Regions from separate parts of the Homo sapiens genome. Here all the other regions are linked to region 1. Evidence: promoter capture Hi-C in 16 types of primary human blood cells and fetal thymus (Javierre and others, 2016). All regions are on one chromosome and are shown on one strand. The core of a region is centred on a gene start or on the middle of the fragment in contact, and the rest is flanking DNA. Distances in the headings are between cores, read along the strand shown. Region 1 holds the start of MRPL9 (mitochondrial ribosomal protein L9). Region 2 overlaps SNX27 (sorting nexin 27). Region 3 overlaps THEM4 (thioesterase superfamily member 4). Region 4 has its middle 2.2 kb from the start of C2CD4D-AS1.

The links. The method cuts DNA at HindIII sites, captures the fragments that hold promoters and counts their contacts. A CHiCAGO score of 5 or more calls a contact.
Region 2: a fragment that was not itself captured here is called in contact with the fragment with the promoter of MRPL9 in region 1 in 1 of 17 cell types (M1 macrophages); the score reaches 5.4 in M1 macrophages.
Region 3: a fragment that was not itself captured here is called in contact with the fragment with the promoter of MRPL9 in region 1 in 1 of 17 cell types (M1 macrophages); the score reaches 5.4 in M1 macrophages.
Region 4: a fragment that was not itself captured here is called in contact with the fragment with the promoter of MRPL9 in region 1 in 3 of 17 cell types (M1 macrophages, M2 macrophages and M0 macrophages); the score reaches 7.9 in M1 macrophages.

Annotation. Positions count from the first base shown.
Region 1 is chr1:151,761,961-151,765,171 of GRCh38, forward strand. It overlaps MRPL9 (mitochondrial ribosomal protein L9), which reads right to left and starts at 1,536. Exons shown (of 7, transcript NM_031420.4): 1 at 1,367-1,536; 2 at 1,030-1,186; 3 at 416-540; 4 at 145-195. The coding sequence starts at 1,519. It also overlaps a transcript of OAZ3 not described here. RefSeq lists an enhancer at 1,307-1,686. The HindIII fragment of the contact is 8,401 bases long and covers 1-3,211 here.
Region 2 is chr1:151,637,826-151,641,036 of GRCh38, forward strand. It overlaps SNX27 (sorting nexin 27), which reads left to right. Exons shown (of 12, transcript NM_001330723.2): 2 at 1,063-1,294. Among named protein-coding and RNA genes, the nearest start is that of SNX27, 27 kb to the left of the region's middle. The HindIII fragment of the contact is 1,372 bases long and covers 761-2,132 here.
Region 3 is chr1:151,881,627-151,884,837 of GRCh38, forward strand. The region is part of intron 4 of THEM4 (thioesterase superfamily member 4); the gene reads right to left. Among named protein-coding and RNA genes, the nearest start is that of THEM4, 26 kb to the right of the region's middle. The HindIII fragment of the contact is 1,738 bases long and covers 764-2,501 here.
Region 4 is chr1:151,834,445-151,837,655 of GRCh38, forward strand. No RefSeq gene overlaps it. Among named protein-coding and RNA genes, the nearest start is that of C2CD4D-AS1, 2.2 kb to the right of the region's middle. The HindIII fragment of the contact is 1,518 bases long and covers 908-2,425 here.

The sequences.
Region 1 (3,211 bases), core at 286-2,785:
CCTGTTTTGTGGGGCAGCCACAACACTTCCCCTTTCTCCCACTCTTGGGTCTGCAATCAGGAGACCTCAAGGGAATCAGGGAGACTCTCAGGGTGAGGTTGGTAAGTCTTGTGACAAATAAACACTTTTTATGTTTCTACTCACCGCCTCACCTGCCTTGGTCTGGATCTTCTCTAATTTTCCTTCTTGTCTCAGCTAGAAAAGAAAGTTAAAGATGAAAAGCAGTAAAAGAAAAATGAGCCCATGTTAAATAGCATCAAACTATTCCTATGTTGGACATTGGCTGGGCTTCTGCATTCCTGTTCTTCTAGTTCCTATTTCATTTTCAAGTTAAGTTAAATGTCAAAGGGAAGGAAGCTGCAAGAGAAAAGAAGTTTTATCTCCCCAAGTCTCTCTGTCCTTCCTTTGAGCTCACCAATTTCTCCTCTTCAAACAGCTTCTTGTTTTCAGGGGATGCATATACAGCCAGTCCCTGAGGAAGGAGTCGATTCCGGCCTAAAGATTTCTTCACTGAGACCAGGTCACCCCGGACTCCAACATCTGTCAATTAGAACAGAGACAGGGGAATTAGAACCATCTAGGAGTCCCTAAAGAAAAGATGTCAAAAAGAGAAGCACCTCTTAGTTTCTCACAGTGCTTATTTTTCCTAAAAGAAATGCTAATTCATATTCACTAGGAACAAGATTTAAGAGACTGCTAATTAGTTTCTTTAGAACTTGATGTATAAATTTAATATCCCCTGTATAGAGGGAGTTGTCGTCCCATGGAGGATTTCAGTATCTGTGGCACAAATTGTCAGGCTCCTCTCCCCACACACTGTTAATGATGTTGCTGCCTTTATGTTTTAATTTTCAATGCTGGAGGCCAGTGTCACAATCACAATAGTTTTTATGGCTTCCTCTTCTCACATATAGAGTTGGATTGTTTCCACAAAGAAAAAGCAAGGCAAATAGTTGAGGGGGACGGGCTAGAAAAAGCTGATGCCAAACCGGACCAGCCTGAGAGGAAGCGCCTCGGCCCGGGCCTTACTCTCCACCGACTGCGTCAGGATGAGCTCCAGGTTTTCTTTGGGCCGATGCTTCGTGTCCTCCACCAGCTTATAGACGCGATGTCGCCGGTGCAGGCGCGGCTTCCGGCCCTCCCCGGCCAGCGGTACCTTCCACCAGCGCTCCACGATGACCGTGCCCTGGCGGCCAGGAAAGCGACGGTAAGCTAGTCTCCACAAGGAACACCCTCTCCCTCCACCACGGCCGCCAGCCCCTCAAGGAAAGCCCGCCACCCCCACATCGGCCCCCTCCAGGTCCCAGTGCGCCTCCAGAAACAATACTCGAGCGTATCTACCCCCTACCCCAGACTCAGCCCTCACCCGATTTTGAGAAAGGCTGAAGTTGCAGGCCAGGTCAGGGGCGTTCCCTTCATGTCGCGGCCGCAGTAGCTCCTGGACGCCTCCCCGAAGCAGCCGTCCAGCGCCCGCCCGCAGCAGAGCTCTGCCCGGGGCCGTGACAACGGGCGCCGCCATGTTCACAGGCACAGAATGAGACCTGAGGGAGGACCCCGGCGTCGGCGGCAGGAAAGGCCCCCGCCAGTGCTGCCTGCGGCGCGCCGGTACGGCTGAGCGAAAGTATGGGGAGCGGGCCGGGGAACAGATGGCACCGCGGCTTGCCTATTTTTGCTTTTTGGCAGAGGTGACGGACGCCTAGAATTACTGACTGATAATGGAATGAGTGTTAGGTGGACTGACGCCGGAAAAGACGCTCTTCCTCTTGAAAGTGTGGGCTTTGCTGTAGCTCCAGTTGCTGGGCTAACTTTTAATTCTAACGTTCTGTGATGACTGGATACTGACCGGAGAATGAATGATGCTCTCACTTTTCCTTACTTCAAATCTACCTAAAAGTGGTAAAGGATGGGATCCCTTGGAAAACTCTGCCAGCTCCAGGAGGAGCCTGACCCTTAATCATTATACTGCAGTATTTAAGCTAATAAAGGAGAATTCTAAATCACAAGCTATGTAAACCGTAGAAAAAAAAGCAACTATGGTAAGGCCGCGACAGTTCCCTCTGGGGAGGGTCTCAGTACTGGACAGAAGACCATAAAAACTGGATGAAAGAAGGTCCATTTGGCAGAGATTATGGAAAGACTGGCCCTTAAACATACTGACCAGTCCTCCTTCCTCCTAAATACACTACTTGGCCTCCTGGACACCGGTCTTCTTCAGTCTCGTTTGCTGATTTCTCCTTTTCTCCCCGCTTCTTAGAATGCCCTCGGGACTCCGTTTTTGAACCTTTACTCTTCTCAGTATACACTCACTGTTGATCTCATCCAGTCTCGTGGCTTACAATACCATTTATAAGCCAATGACTCCCAAATTTCTAGTTCCATCCTAGACATCTCCCAAACTCGTCTCAAATATTCAACTGTTTATTCGTCATTTTCCTCTTACGTATCCAAAGGACACCTCAAAGTTAACTGTCCCAAACTAATTTATTTATTCCCCCCTCGCCCCCAAAACTGCCCCATCTGCAGCCTTTTTCCTCTCAGTTGACAGAAACTCCATTCTTTCCATTCTAACTCTTTTCTCTCATACTCCATCAGGAAATCCTGTGGGTTCTACCTTTAAATTACAGATAGTCCCTGACTTGGATTTACAATTTTTGAGTTTGTGATGGTGTGAAAGTGATGTGCACTCAGTAGGACATCAATAAGTTACATGAAATATTCAACACTTTATTATAAAATAGGCTTTGTGTTAGATGATTTTACCCAACTGTCGGATAAGTTGTCTGAGCATGTTTAAGATAGGCTAGGCTAAGCTATGGTGTTTGGTAGGTGTATTATATGCATTTTCAACTTATGATACTTTCAACATACGATGGGTTTATCAGGACATAACCCTATTTTAAGTCAAGGAGCACTTGTATTTCCAGAATCCAGCCACTTGTCACCACCTCCAATGCTCTACCTTGGAATAAGACACTACTTTCTCCTGGATTACTGCAATAGTCCCCTAAAAGATATCCCTTAATTCTCTACAGTTTATAATTCTATGTAGCTTATTTATAGCAGCCAGAATGATCTTTTTAAAGCATAAGTCAGATCATGTCATTCTTCCACCCAAAACTTTGTAATGACTTCCTCCTTTACTCAAGGTAAAAGAAAAAGGCCATCAGATGGTCTACAAGGCCATACATACTCTGACCCCATTAGCTCCTCT
Region 2 (3,211 bases), core at 197-2,696, 120 kb before region 1:
AATCCCTAATGGTTTGGAACAGGACTGAAAAAGAATTTAACTCTAAAGGGTAGATAAGCTTTAAATGTTAAATTGATTAGAGGTCAGGTGTGTATTTCCTACCTCTCTTGGGATAGCCATGGGAGGGAACCTCCAGGCCTGCTGCCCAGTGGTTTTTGCTGAGAGAGCAGCTGGATCAGCATTCTGGAAGGTAGTTTGGTTTGCTGAGGGAGTCTTGTGAGACTCAGCATCTTTCTTGACAAAATACTTCATCTAAACCTTGTACTTTGTTTGCCTTATTTCAGCCTTTTGTACACAGCAAAACAGGAAGGAAAATTAGTAGGCTGACCATATAATTATAGGTGTATATTTTTTAGTTTGGACTGATTACACAGGACTCTAAATGAGATAGCATAGAGCAGGAAAAAAGTTGATGGAATCCCAAGAGGTTAATTGAATTGGAAACTAGTGTATGTGAAGAGTAATACCATTTAGCTCCCAAAGTAATGAAACTTGGCATAAAGGAAAATTAAGTTGACTGATTTGAGATATGGAGAGAAATTGGATGTAAATGTAAAGGAATTATCTTCAGTCATAACTTTTTTTGAGTCTCTATTTACAAATTAAGAGAATTTATTTTGTGAAGGTTCTTTTAACAGAATTCCTTTGAGGTTTAAAAAGGACAAAGTACAATTCAAGTGGCAGGGCTGTCAAAAGCCACTTTGATTGAATTGTATACATGCTTAGTTAGAATGAGGAAATTGGATTGTTTGACTGAAAAAGCTTTGTTTCCTCCTCAGCTTCAGCCTCTTTCCATGTGCGTTCCTGAAGCTATGTGTGGGATATTAGTATAGAGGAAGGGGAGGTCTTCTCACCTCTTTCCATTTTTCCCCCCGCCATAAGTTCACAAAGTTTTTCACATTAGAAACTGTTAAAACATAAACAACTTTTCTGGAACCAAATTAATCTTTTGACTTCATGGTTCATACCGTGTGACACTGGAGTTTGGGCAGGAGGGTGGAGATACAAGGTGTTTGGACCCTTCTGGTTTATGGGATTGTCTTTTTCCCTTTTTCCCCTTAGGAACCACGTGAATGTTGAGGGGGCGACACACAAGCAGGTGGTGGACCTGATTCGAGCAGGCGAGAAGGAATTGATCTTGACAGTGTTATCTGTACCTCCTCATGAGGCAGATAACCTAGATCCCAGTGACGACTCGTTGGGACAATCATTTTATGATTACACAGAAAAGCAAGCAGTGCCCATATCGGTCCCCAGATACAAACATGTGGAGCAGAATGGTGAGAAGTTTGTGGTGAGTGTCAGCCCAACTCGATCCTCGAACATCTAGCTTTGTTTCCCCTAGTCTTATAATTATGAAACTATTATAGTGGTAGATAAAAGGCTGCAACCTAGGTCAGTTTGTCTACCAGGAGGATGAGTTCACACATAAATAAAAGACACTGACCCTGATTTATTGCAGGGGGTGAATTACAGTAGTGGAAAAGAGTCCTACTCAGCTTGAGTATAATTCCATTTTATTTTTAGATAGTTTCAAGTTTGCATTCTGGTTTGTCGTAAACGTGTGAGTTTTTGTTTAGTTTCTTTTTTGTTTGTTCTTTTGTTGGTTGCCGTATCTCTTTGCTAATAGTATCTTATTTACTGTTGATTCTGTGGTGCTATAGGGCAAGATTAATGTAAAAGGATGGTGTCCTTCAAGATATTTGGGTAATAGAGAGGTTCACCCATTTCAGAACTTAGATGTCTCTACTCTTCTTTCCACATCATGTTCTTTTTCATTTTCTTTGGAGATATCCGTGTGAATGATTAACTGTGGTTTTTCCCACGAGTTTCCTGAATGCAATTCCCATGAGCTGTTTCACACATTTCTAATCTGTTGCTGTTGTAGCTATGCAGGAAAGCCCATCTTGAATTTTTAGTGATGTGTGCTAGCCCCTTTGCTGAATGCCTTTGTTCTTCAGAGCCTAATTGCCACTGATAGCTCAGTCTACTTAATTTTTCTTTTGGTTGCAATATGCTTTATTTGCCTTTAATTATTTGTGGAGTGTTGATATAATGAGAAATGTTCATTATTCTTAGTAGAAAATGCAGTGGGTTCTGTTAGATGCTGGCAAACAGACTACAGGTTTTAAAGCTTAACAGTTGACTAAAGTTACAGTCTCTAAAACTGAGATTTATCCTCTGCATAGGAACGAGCTACTAAACATTTATGGTAAATTCTTTTTAGTGAAGAGATAAGAAAAGCAAGGAAGCTAAAAGAGTTGCAGAGGATCAAATAATGCTTGGTTGCATCTGTAATTAGCTGTAGATAATGGCATATAGGTTTTATTTCAGCATGGACTTCTGTAGTCTTAGAACCACACACAGAATTTAGAGTTTTATGCTTCCTAAGTGCTAACTTTGAGTCATAAGGCATGTAAGAAGTTGAAATCAAGGTCACATCCTAAAAGTAGAGCAGTCTGGATGTTGAGACCTTTTGGGAATTACCTAAAACCTTGGAAACCTGAGAAAAGGAATAATACTACCAATTGTACCTTTGTTTATTTTTATTTTTATTATATATATTTTTTAAGACGAAGTCTCACTCTGTCCCCCAGCCTGGGGTACAGTGGTGTGATCTTGGCTCACTGCAATCTCTGCCTCCCGGGTTCAAACAATTCTGCCTCAGCCTCCCAAGTAGCTGGGATTACAGGTGCGCACCACCATGCCCTGCTAAGTTTTGTATTTTTAGTAGAGATGGTGTTTCACCATGTTGGCCAGGCTAGTCTCGAACTCCTGACCTCAGGTAATCCACCTGCCTCAGCCTCCCAAAGTGCTGGGATTACAGGTATGAGACACTGCGCCCAGCCCACTAATTGTACTTTTCAAATCAACTTTATTGAACATAGTTTACCTATATTAACATTCACTCATGTTAAGTCTCCACTTTTACAAGTTTTGACAAATGTACATAGTCTTATAACCACCACCACCACCATGAAGATTTAGAATATTTTCATACCCTCAAAAGTTCCCTCATGCCCTTTACAGTTAGTCCTCACCCCTTACCACTGCCCTTGTCAACCACGGATCAGCTTACTGTCACCATATTTTACATTTTCCAGAATGTCAAATAAGTAGAATCATACCATTTGTACTCTCTTGTATCTGGCTTTGTTCAGTTAGTATAGTGCTTAAGATTGGCAGACATTGTTATTTAAACCAAATATTT
Region 3 (3,211 bases), core at 383-2,882, 120 kb after region 1:
TTGTCTTCTGGCTTCTACTGTTGCTATTGAGAGGTTTACTGCCAGTGTAATGGTGCCCTCTTGCTTCTAAAAAGCAAGACTGCTTTGTAATGGCTGCTCTATCTTAGCTCTGCTTTTAAGATCTCTTTGTCTTAAGTATTCTCCAATTTCTCTATAATGTCTCTAGATATACTTTTAAAACCTAGCTTGATATAGATTGCTTTCTATATTGTCAATTCATGATTTTCTTTAGCTCTTGAATATGCTGACCCATTATTTCCTTAAATACTGGATCTCTTCAATTCTCTTTATTCTATTTTTCTAGGACTCTAATTAGAGCATGTTAGATCTTTTTATTTGTCCACTATAGCTTATGCTCTCTATATTTCCCATTTCCTTTTTTCTCTGTGCTGGATTCAGGGTAATTTTTTTTTTCTCTCTCTCTCTGCTAAACATAGATCTGAAAATAATAATTAAAAAGCTTCATTTAGGCCGGGCATGGTGGCTCACGCCTGTAATCCCAGCACTTTGGGAGGCCGAGGCGGATGGATCATGAGGCCAGGAGTTCAAGACCAGCATGACCAACATGGCAAAAACCCATGTTTACTAAAAATACAGAAATTAGCCGGGCATGGTGGCATGTGCCTGTAATGTCAGCGACTCAGGAGGCTGAGGCAGGAGAATCGCTTGAACGCAGGAGGCGGAGGTTGGAATGAGCCAAGATTGCACCACTGACTCCAGCCTGGGTGACAGAGAGACTCCATCTCAAAAAAAAAAAAAAAAAAGCTTCATTTAACATATTAAGCTGCTAGCTCTGAATACATTAACTGTGATCCTCAAAATATCTCTTTAAGAAAAGTATTATTGTCTTTGGTTAATGGATGAGGAAACTGAGGCCCAGAGAGGTTAGGTAATTTGCTAAAGCTGTATGGCTATTTGGTGGCACACATGGGATTCAAATCCCCAACAGTCTGATTCAAAGTTCTACTTCCCATTTTGCATTTGAGCTTGTTTTATCTGCCAAATGACTTAGTTGAGGTGGGCATGTTGATGTATTTATGGGATATATCTCAACACCGCACTAGAACAATGGAGCTGGTGACTAATTTAGTGTTTTTAGTAATACAACCACCACCACCATCACCGAGCATATGGATCTGACAAATGAACTCTTGATTAAATTTCAATGGAAGGGGAAAATAACTTGTAGGGAGAAATGATTTGAAGGTTTACTGGGCTGTGAGATTATAAAAATCATGAGAGTTTGCATTAGTTTATTTTCATGCTACTATAAAGAACTACCTGAGACTGGGTAATTTATAAAGAAAAGAGGTTTAATTGACTCACAGTTCTGCATGGCTGGGGAGGCTTCAAGAGACTTACAATCACGGCAAAGGTGAAGGGAAAGGGGAAGGGGAAGCAAGGCACGTCTTACATGGTGGCAGGAGAGAGAGAGAGAGAGAGTGCAAGGGGGGATCTGTCAAATGCTTTTATTTATTTATTTATTTATTTATTTATTTATTTATTTTCGAGATGGAGTCTTGCTCTGTTGCCCAGGCTGGAGTGCACTGGCGCAATCTCGGCTCACTGCAACTCTCAGGTTCAAGCAATTCTCCTGCCTCAGCCTCCTGAGTAGCTGGGATTATAGGCATACACCACCATGCCCAGCTAATTTTTTTTTGCATTTTCAGTAGAGATGGGGTTTCACCATGTTGGTCAGGCTGGCCTTGAACTCCTGATCTCAGGTGATCCACTCACCTTGGCCTCCCAAAATGCTGGGATTACAGGCGTGAGCCACGGTGCCCAGCCTGCCAAACACTTTTAAACCATCAGATTTCATAAGAACTCACTATCACTAGAACAGCATGGGGGAAACTGCCCCCATGATCCAGTCACCTCTCACCAGGTCCCTCCCTTGACACATGGGGATTACAATTCTAGATGAGATTTGGGTGGCGACACAAAGCCAAACCATATCAGAATTATAAAATGTCTAACTAAATTGTTAGTGAAAATAAAGGATTTAATTGTGCATTTTTTTTTTTTTGAGATGGAGTCTCACTCTGTTGCCCAGGCTGGAGTGCAGTGGCATGATCTCGGCTCATTGCAACCTCCCAGGTTCAAGCGATTCTCCTGCCTCAGCCTCCCAAGTAGCCTGGCCTTAACTGTGCATTTTAAAGGAACAAGCACTGGGCACGATGGCTCACACCTGTAATCTCAGCACTTTGGGAGGCTGAGGTGGGTGGATCACCTGAGGTCAGGAGTTTGAGACCAGCCTGGCCAACATGGTGAAACCTCGTCTCTACTAAAAATACAAAAATTAGCCGGGTATGGTGGCCTATGCCTGTAATCCCAGCTACTTGGGAGGCTAAAGCAGGAGAATCACTTGAACCCAGGAGGTAGAGGTTGCAGTGAGCTGAGATTGCGCCACTGCACTCCAGCCTGGGTGGCAGAGTGAGACTCTGTCTCAAAATAATAAATAAATAAATAAATAAATAAATAAATAAAGGAAGGAAGGAAGAAGCTTCCAGAATGTGTTGGCTACAAATTAGAAACACAGTGCCACAAGATTATTAAAGTGATGTGAGCTTCTGATTAAAAAAAATACAGAATGAAAAGCAATCGAAACTCTAAAAAGCAAACAAAACCCAGAAGCCTAGGGATTGTCATTTTCCCTTTTCAAGAAAACTATTGAGTGTATTTTTAAAGCTTTCTTTTAAATTCTTGCAGTGGAGTGATATTTAGAAGTAACTCCTGTGTTATCTATCCATAAGAATTCACATTTACCCCTCTTGTTCTTACATCAGTCAGGTATCAAAGAAACCTTTCTATATAGACTGCCCACAAGGCGGGGTAGTTATAATAGGAAAATGGAGAGAAAGAAATGACATTCCACAGCTTTTGAGTTTCTAGCAAATTCAGAGGAAATGTTCTGACCTTTACCAGCATACCATCTTATCAGGGTAATTTCTTCAGTTCTATATTTCTGTTCACTTTCAGCTGTGTTTAAATAGTCCTTTAACCTATTCACTGAGGTATTTTTTTGTTTTTAAACAATTACACTTTCATTTCCTTTTTTTTGTTTTTTTTTTGTTTTTTTTGAGATGGAGTCTCACTCTGTCGCCCAGGCTGGGGTACAATGGTGCAATCTCTGCTCACTGCAACCTCTGCCTCCTGGGTTCAAGTGATTCTCCTGCCTCAGCCTCCCAAGTAGCTGAGATTACAGGTGCGC
Region 4 (3,211 bases), core at 417-2,916, 73 kb after region 1:
CCCCTCCCCCTTCTTGTCACAAAGGCCACTGTGGGTGGAGGAACAGTGGGAGTTTGACCCTAGCTCCTGGCCTTGAACTTTCCACAGTGACCCTGCTTGTACCTCTCCTCTACCAATTAACATTTATAGTCACACAGGCTTGGAGGTGGCAAGAAGGGTTTAAATGCTGGGGCAGAATCACTTATAAGAATGTGGTCTGCCATTTACTAGCTGTAGGCCCTGAGGGAAATCTCAGCCCTCAGCTACCACATCAGTAAAAATGGGGCAATAATACCTGTCCTAACTAGTGGATTTTTTTGTTTTGTTTTGTTTTTGAGACAAGGTCTCACTTTGTCACCCAGGCTGGAGTGCAGTGGCGTGATCTCAGCTTACTGCAGGCTTGACCTCCTGGGTTCAAGAGGTCCTCCTGCTTCAGCCCCCCAAGTAGTTGGGACTACAAGTGCATGCCACCACATGCAACTAATTTTTGCATTTTTTGTAGAGATGGGGTTTCACCATGTTGCCCAGGCTGGTCTCAAACTCCTGAGCTCAGGTAATCTGCCCGCCTCAGCCTCCCACATTTATCCACTTATCAAAGTGTTAGGATTACAGTCATGAGCCACCACACCTGGCCTCTGACTAGTGTTTATAGAAGTGCTTTGGGGCCAGAGCAATCTGCACACTGGAGGGTTTCTTAGGACCTCCTCACTCCCATGTTTCTGTACTTTAGCTACCCAGGATGTTCCTCCAGCAATGCTAGGGCCCCCATCACAGAGCCTCAGGGCTGTGAATGCTGAGTGAACTGCTCCTGGGAGGAGTGGCCTTGGATTTCCTCACAGCTTCCCCTAAGCAGTTGGGGTGGCAGTGGGGGTGTCTGGGTGGAGTCAGGTCAGAACCTTTCCCTCCAGCCAGGGCTGTTCCCCAGGCAAGCTTACTTAACCTATCTATCTGATCCATTTCTTTCTTTGTAAAGTGGGAATAATAATACCTACTCTCCTGAGTGGTTGTGACGCGGTGGCTTACGCCTGTAATCCCAGCACTTTGGGAGGCCGAGGTGGGTGGATCATGAGACCGAGACCGAGATCATGAGACCAAATCAGGAGATCGAGACCATCCTGGCTAACACGGTGAAACCCCGTCTCTACTAAAAATACAAAAAACCAGCGGGTGTGGTGGCACGCGCCTGTAGTGGCAGCTACTCGGGAGGCTGAGGCAGGAGAATCACTTGAACCTGGGAGGTGGAGATTGCAGTGAGACGAGATCGCACCACCGCACTCCAGCCTGGGCAACAGAGTGAGACTCCGTCCCCCCACCCCAAAAAAGAGGAATACTAATATCTACTCTACTGAGTGGTTGTGATGATCAACTGAGATAACACAGATAAAGTTCAGGACCTGGTCCAAAGTACTATGGTTAAAAAAAAAAAGTTTCCTCTCCTCCCTCCCTCTTTCTGTCCCTATAATCTTCCCTTCTCTTTATCTGACCCCTCTTTTCTATTCCCTTTCTTGCTTTATTTTTCTCTGTAACATATCACCAAGTAGCATTCTTTACATTTTAATGGCTTATTTTATCACTTTTCTGATCCCCATGTCTGTTTAATCACTGCTGTATCCAATGCCTGCCACCTGATGGACCTTCCCGAAGTATTTGTTGAAGGAATGCATGAATGAAGGTTCTACGGCCTCTAACTTTCTTTCCAGATACTTTCAAATGGGCATCAAATCCAGTTTCTCACCAAGGGTTGTTATGGGAGAATTTGGGGGCTGAAATAGAAATCCAGTACTAGGGGTAGACCTAAATCTATAGGTAGACTTCCCAGAATTCAAACATGGGATTTTAAACTGGCAGGGTACGAAACCTTTGCAGAGCTACCATCTTAGGGAAGGAGGCCCCTTTTAGAGTGACTTGATTGGGAGGCAGCAGCTGGCAGTGGGGGGTATTATCTTGAAGTGATTAAGAGTCCACACTCTGGAGCCAGACTCCCTGAATTCTTCCCTTTACTAGCTATGTGAGTCCTAGTTCTTCCCTTTACTAGCTATGCGAGGCCCAAGATCCCATTGGATAATAATAGTATTTACACCCTAATAGAAGGTGCTGGGAGGAATAAATGGCTTGACTAATTGTTGGAACAGTTCCTCATGTGGTTATAATCCATGTGTAGTAGTTAGCACTTAGGATTGTTTGGTCAATGCCACCACCTGGTGGACACCTGGAGCAAGAGTTCTCTGGCCTAGGGCTGGGTGGTGCGGACCCAATCAGGGAAGGGAGAAGGAACTGGAGAGCTGTCTGAATGAAGCCGTGTGTGTGTGTGTGTGTGTGTGTGTGTGTGTGTGTGTGTCTCTGTGTGTGTGTCTCTGTGTGTGTGTGTGTGTGTGTGTGTGTGTGTGTGTGTTGGAATTTAACGTGTCCAGGTGCTGAGGCTTTTGAGGTTTTGTCAGATCCCGCAAGCTTAGCCCTGGTGCAGGCCACAGCTGGCACCATGAAAAATGAGAAAGGGCCCAAGGGAGAGGGAGAAAGAAGTTGGGTTAGCCTAGTGCCTACCTCACTTCCTCCCTCCCTCCTCCAAGCCTGGCCTGAGTCCAGAGGAACCGGCTCCTGGGAAGGTGGAGGGAGAGAGAAGAAGGTCACTGCTGACGTCAGGGACATTCAGGTAGAGGTAAACACAATGTGACCTACAATTATCCACCTCCCCCCACCCCCACCTCCTTCTGGCTGGAGGAGGCTCTTCTGGCATTCCTGAGAACAGTTCTCACACTTTGGTAGTACCCCACCTCCCCCCTTTCAATCCCTGGGACATTATATCTCATTCATTTGGTACCCAAGCACCTCTCTGGTTCTTGGCTCCAGACTTGCCCCACCCCTCAAGGGACGCACAGGTGTGGAAGAGGCAAGAGGGAAGAAGGAAGACTAAAGGGCACTCTGTGTTCATCTGACATCCCCTGACTCACTCTCAAGAGCCAGAAATTTCATCTGTCTTCAGGACAGATGTGGGTTTTAGAGGGGCACAGGAAGGGAGTGTTAATTTCCTCTGTGCAGCCTCAAGTGGAAGGTGGCTTGTGTTGGTTTCTGTCAGAGTGACTCAGTGATTGCAGGGCTCCCTGATTGTTCGGGGGCCTTGTTGGCCGGGGACCTTAGGACCTACTTGGCCCAGATCTACTGAAGGAGCATCTCATAGGGATGGAGCCCAGGACCCTGCATATTTAAAAAGCTCTTCCAGGATTTCTGATGTCTG